Regions from separate parts of the Homo sapiens genome. Here region 2 is linked to region 1. The links are contacts of gene promoters, found by promoter capture Hi-C in blood cells and fetal thymus (Javierre and others, 2016). All regions are on one chromosome and are shown on one strand. The core of a region is centred on a gene start or on the middle of the fragment in contact, and the rest is flanking DNA. Distances in the headings are between cores, read along the strand shown.

Evidence for each region. Contacts are between HindIII fragments. The CHiCAGO score rates a contact against its expected background, and 5 or more counts as called.
Region 2: a fragment that was not itself captured here is called in contact with the fragment with the promoter of RBM26 in region 1 in 1 of 17 cell types (total B cells); the score reaches 5.6 in total B cells.

What each region holds. Positions count from the first base shown.
Region 1 is chr13:79,404,978-79,407,559 of GRCh38, reverse strand. It overlaps RBM26 (RNA binding motif protein 26), which reads left to right and starts at 1,305. Exons shown (of 22, transcript NM_001366735.2): 1 at 1,305-1,856. The coding sequence starts at 1,786. RBM26-AS1 (RBM26 antisense RNA 1) reads right to left here and starts at 1,251. Exons shown (of 7, transcript NR_038991.1): 1 at 1,083-1,251. RefSeq lists enhancers at 1,020-1,319, 649-1,640 and a silencer at 1,550-1,749. The HindIII fragment of the contact is 7,810 bases long and covers 1-2,582 here.
Region 2 is chr13:78,144,481-78,147,062 of GRCh38, reverse strand. All of the region lies in intron 1 of OBI1-AS1 (OBI1 antisense RNA 1), which reads right to left. Among named protein-coding and RNA genes, the nearest start is that of OBI1-AS1, 91 kb to the right of the region's middle. The HindIII fragment of the contact is 993 bases long and covers 795-1,787 here.

The DNA of each region.
Region 1 (2,582 bases), core at 56-2,555:
GTACATTCATATTGTGCAACCCACACAACACCACTCATCTCCAGAATCTAAATCATCCTAAACTGAAACTCTATTATCCACTGAAATATAACTCCTCATTTCCCCTTCTCCTGGGCACCCTCTCCACCCCTGCTCTTGCTACCATTCCACCTTCTGTCTCTAGGAGTTTTGACTACTCTAGGTACTTAATGTAAGTGGAATCATAATATTTGTCCTTTCATGTCTGGTTTATTTCACTCAGCTAAATCACTTTAATCAACACCCTGGTTATTCAGTAGCTGGATTCTAATTTGTATTCTACTCTATATGCTGTATTTTAAAACAAATGTCTTGCTTTGTAGTTCATAATCTTTCCACCTAATCCTTAAAGACACTTCACTCTAGCAAATTATAAACTCAAGAGTTCCTAAGAACAATTTAGCCTATCGGTGTCTCTCATAAAGAGCTTTTATTGATCTACTTACTGAAAATGTCTTTAGATTGTGAATATTTTCATTCCATTACAGTTCATGGAACGTAGACCCTTTGTAAAATTCCACCTAGTATCTAAATAGAACTCAAGCAGGAATCAAACTTATTTGATCACCCAGGAAAATAGTTTATTTATTTGGGTTGCTAATATGAAGACTCTCTCTTTTGATACTATATAATTTCCCGATCTGAGATAGGGCTGAATTTGCTCTAAATAAAGAGAATTTTAAAAATAACAAAACTTATCTTTAGCTGGGGGAAAGTGCAGGCTGGAAACTACCTGAGAGACGTGAAGGTTCTCTCACCTTTCCCTTGTGGGCAGCCCTCAGTCATTAGGGCTCTACCAGCAAGTCAAGTACTGTTGGACAAGACACTAATCCTCTGGCGGTCTCATTGGGCTCCATTAGACCAGCCTGTGTTTACAAACCTCGTTCACATCACAGCATACACAGAATATGATACTGGTAGGGCACTTAGGTAAACTGAGGAGGTAGTGTGCTCGGCACCTGGAACCTACGGGCCGCCTGGTGTCGCGCACGCGGGAGTGTACGCTCTCAAAGAGCGATCCATCCGGCAGGACCGTTCCAGCTGACAGGCCACGGCCGTCTTACCGGGGACGAGCTGGGGTTCCCGCTGTTTCTGAAGTCAGCGGTCTTTTCCTCCTTGTAAGAAATAAGGTCTTTATATCATAAAGGTAAGCAAAGAATAAAAAGGCACAAAGGCCGCAAGCAACGCACACACGCAAAAATCGAACTACAGCACTCGACCCGCGCATTCTCCGCCGACCTTACGTCTCTCCCAGCAGGCTCCGGGAGCCACCGCGAGACTTCATCAATTCTCGCGAGATTTACCGGCAGCCATCTTCTTGGGGGTGCTGGGAGCCGGGAAGACCCCCTGAATCGTTCCCATTGAGCTGCCCTTCGCCTTCGCTTTCTTTACTTTTGCCTTTTCGACGTAGCCAACAAGCACCTGGTCCCGAGGCTGAGAGAAGGCTCGGGTCTAAGCGCGTGTCGCGCTTCCGGTCTGGGTAGATTTGCTGGGGAAGAGGGAAGGGGGAGGGCCCGGGCAAACCGTTGCTGTTTCAGCCCGGGCTGGGGGCCGGGGACGGGGAGCTCCTGGCACCCCGTGCACTTGTGGCCTGCGGCGGTCCTTGCAGAGCTGTTCGCCGACCGGGGCCCGCGGGAACCTGCCACCGGCGCCTCCCACCGCGGCCCACGCGGGCGGCGCGCGGAGGAGGGGGCGGGGGCAGCGGCGGCTGTAGCGGCCGCGACCTGGGCGGGCGGAGGAGTGTGACGGGCCTTAGGGCCGCTGTGGATGGTTTCTAAAATGATCATTGAAAACTTCGAGGCACTCAAGTCCTGGCTCAGCAAGACTCTCGAGCCCATGTGAGTATCCGGGGGATATCTCTTTGCAGGGATGGCAGTGGGAGATAGGCGGACCCAGAGATCTGTGCAGTTTCCCCAAGTGCCTGCGGTGGAGGCCGAAGCGGTGAACGGAGGTCCCAGGGTTCTGTGGCTTCTCCTCCTCGTCCACCTCGCTTCCAGATTCAGGATACCCCCGAGAGCCTGAGTCGAGCTTTATTTTATTGCTGAGCTGCTCTCGTTTTCCCGTTATATATAGACCGTCTCCAACCCCCACCCGCAATATTTTCCGGGGGCCTCAAAATCGGTTTATTTTAGTGAAACCGACTGTATTTTACTTCCTACAGATTATTTTACCTTGTTTTTCTAAATGAAGTAGACGGCCTTTATTGGGGATTCGGGCAGTTCTAGCTTAAATCACTCACGTTTCACCTAAATATAATTCCTGAAAGCAAGGCCACGTCTCCCATGTGCTGTCTGGCTCATCTGCACCTCTCTTCACTGATTGAAGATGTAACAGGTGCTGAGGTGGCCAGTAAAATTCCCCTTTCCCGCCTACGCGTTCGTTAGCTTGGAGAGGAGGAAGAAAATTGAATCTTCATCCATATGGAATATTTAGCAGTTTTAAGTGGGATGCTATAGATAGATTTTGTGTTGGGGGCTGCGGTTAGAGTGCTGAAATAGTCTTAGATTGGAAAATTTAAGGAGTGTTTTGACGACTTGTTAATACAAAATATGACATGGACCAAA
Region 2 (2,582 bases), core at 42-2,541, 1.3 Mb after region 1:
GAAGAATGGTTAAATAGACCAAAGCTGTTGCCCTTTTCCTATCTCCCAAAACAGTGTGATTCTGTTCTCTTCTGAGCCTAGAAAATATCTGACAGTCATCATTTTTTCGTAAAATTTATGTGCAGATTTTTGCAAACCAAGATTAACAGACAATGAAGGAAGGGCTGATCTGAGTGTATGAGTATAGATATATAGATATATAAAATATATGTGTGTGTGGGGGGGTATATTGTTTTTCTATTCATTGACTTTTGAAAACAGAAAGCTCCTTACCATCTAAAGGAATATATCCAAAATGGTGAAGTGTCAAGTGGTATGATTTGGTTGAGATGCACAAATGTTCACTGAAGACCAGGTGGGTTTCAAGTTAAATACCTGAAGATATATAAGACATAGTATCTACTTTGCATTAATATTTTTGCAGGCCGGGATCCCTGACTTCTCTCCCTCTAATCATTTCAAATTAGTAAATCAGGAAATCCCAAAATCTGTTGGGAAGGACTGTTAGAAAATGTTAGGTCCTAAAAGCATGGAACCAAATTCTGGCTCTGTCACTTTCCCACTGTATTTCTTTGGTGAATTTTTAAAATTTTGATGAATTTCTTACCTAGAGTGACTGTATTCTCTGATCTCAGAGAAGTCCTGGCTTATACTTGTTGTCTCGGATTAATTAACAAGACCTTCCTCTTTTCAAGAGCTCCTCATTTTCTATAATAAATTATATGATGACATGTCAACTTCAGAATGGTTTTAAGAATTAAATGAACATATGTGGCTGTGTGTATAAAAAAGCTTGAAAAATGTACAAATGGAGGTTAAAAATGAGAAATCCAATAAATGAATAAAAGATTAATGAAGAATGAAGATTTTATTAGTATTTTAAGATATAACCTTTTCAGCATAGGCACAAGCTCTTTCCAAGATCTTGGATTAATTTTTCATAGTATGAACATATGGCAAGTGTTTTTCCTAATATCACTATGTGGCAGAAATAGATCCCATGTCCAGATACATATATTTCATGGATCCAGTGACATTGATTTACTTTTTATTTACTTTGAAGTCATTGGGATACAAAGAAATATAACATTGTAAATTCAAATGTTTTCTTTGCAAACCAAAGGGCTTTGTGATCACTTATTTCTTTCTCTTCCACCAGAAGATGAGTAGCATGTAATATTCTCTCTGAATCATATATGAAAAAGCACAGGACTTACTTCTCAAGCGGCAGAGCCCTGGAGGATTATTCCACTAGAATAACCACTTGCGAAAATATCTCTACAAGATAATGCAACTTGAAAAAGAAGACCCAAGGTGACCCCTTAATTACTAACATTAGAACTCAAAGCTCTTGGAGATCTAGGGGTTTTTCACTTTAATACTTAGCTAAATAGGTTAAGATTATAGAATAGCCTAAACAAAGTCAGTATTGATATTGTTTGTGGAATATGGAAAAATATTTTCCAAATTATTAAGAGACAGCCTTAAAGGATCCACTAAGACAAAAGGCAAAATGGACCCCTCATCCTCTGACCTGTGTAGCAATAAGCTAGGTTTATGGCTTGCCTGCTCACCTCAGGAAGTGGTAATAACAGCCATTATTTTCTGTGGAAGCAATGCCTGTAACCATGTCATCCTCTGATAAATCATACCAGTTGCATCTTATTATCACACCGATGGTTCAATTAACTCACATCACCACTCAATTTATCAAATTAAAAAGGAAGGGTTTTGTGTGTTCTAATAATTGTTTCATTAACATAAAACTAGTTAAGAACCAAGAAGCTTCAGATCCAGATTCATAATGTCTTTATGCAGTTTTGTTTTGATTTTGCTCTGATAGTCGTACACTGACACATCTTGTGTTCTATTAGTTGTCATTATTATTCTTTCATTAACATACATATGGCTATTGAATGTGGCAGGTTTTCATAGAAGACAAACACAATATTACAGAACAAAATGGTGACCATAATTTTGAAGATCTAGGCATGTTTTTAAGCATTACAAAAGCTTTAAAATAAGCATTGTCATCAGTTCAGTATGGAAGTGGTGTACTAATGAAAGAGCTACGTTAAACTAATATATTCAAGGACTTTTAAGATTAGAGAGTAAGGAATTTCAGAGTAAATTTTAAATGATTCTTAGAAATTTTTATCTAACTAGAACAGATAATTCTGTTGTTCTATATAAATAAATCAAGGAAAAGATATATTTCAGAGGCATTGCCCAGTGAAAATTAATTTTGGAAATTTTAAGTCAGATGGTTGGAGAATGTCAGCCATACTTTAATAGTTTCACAGCAACTTCTTCCAAGCAGAGTTGTACAATCATGTGTTTAAATTAAACTTATCACTACACACTAATAATAATGTTATATTGTCCCGTACTTATCAATTTTCACAACTCTTTCACATTATTTTACCCTTACAGCAACTACATAAGTTAAATATGATCCTTCCCATCTTACAGTAGGAACCAAGGTTCACAGGGGTTATGTCACCCAAGTTGAGTCATCCTGGTATGTGTCCATGCCAAGACTAAAGTATAGATGGTCTAGTTAAAAGACACTTGTCTTGAAA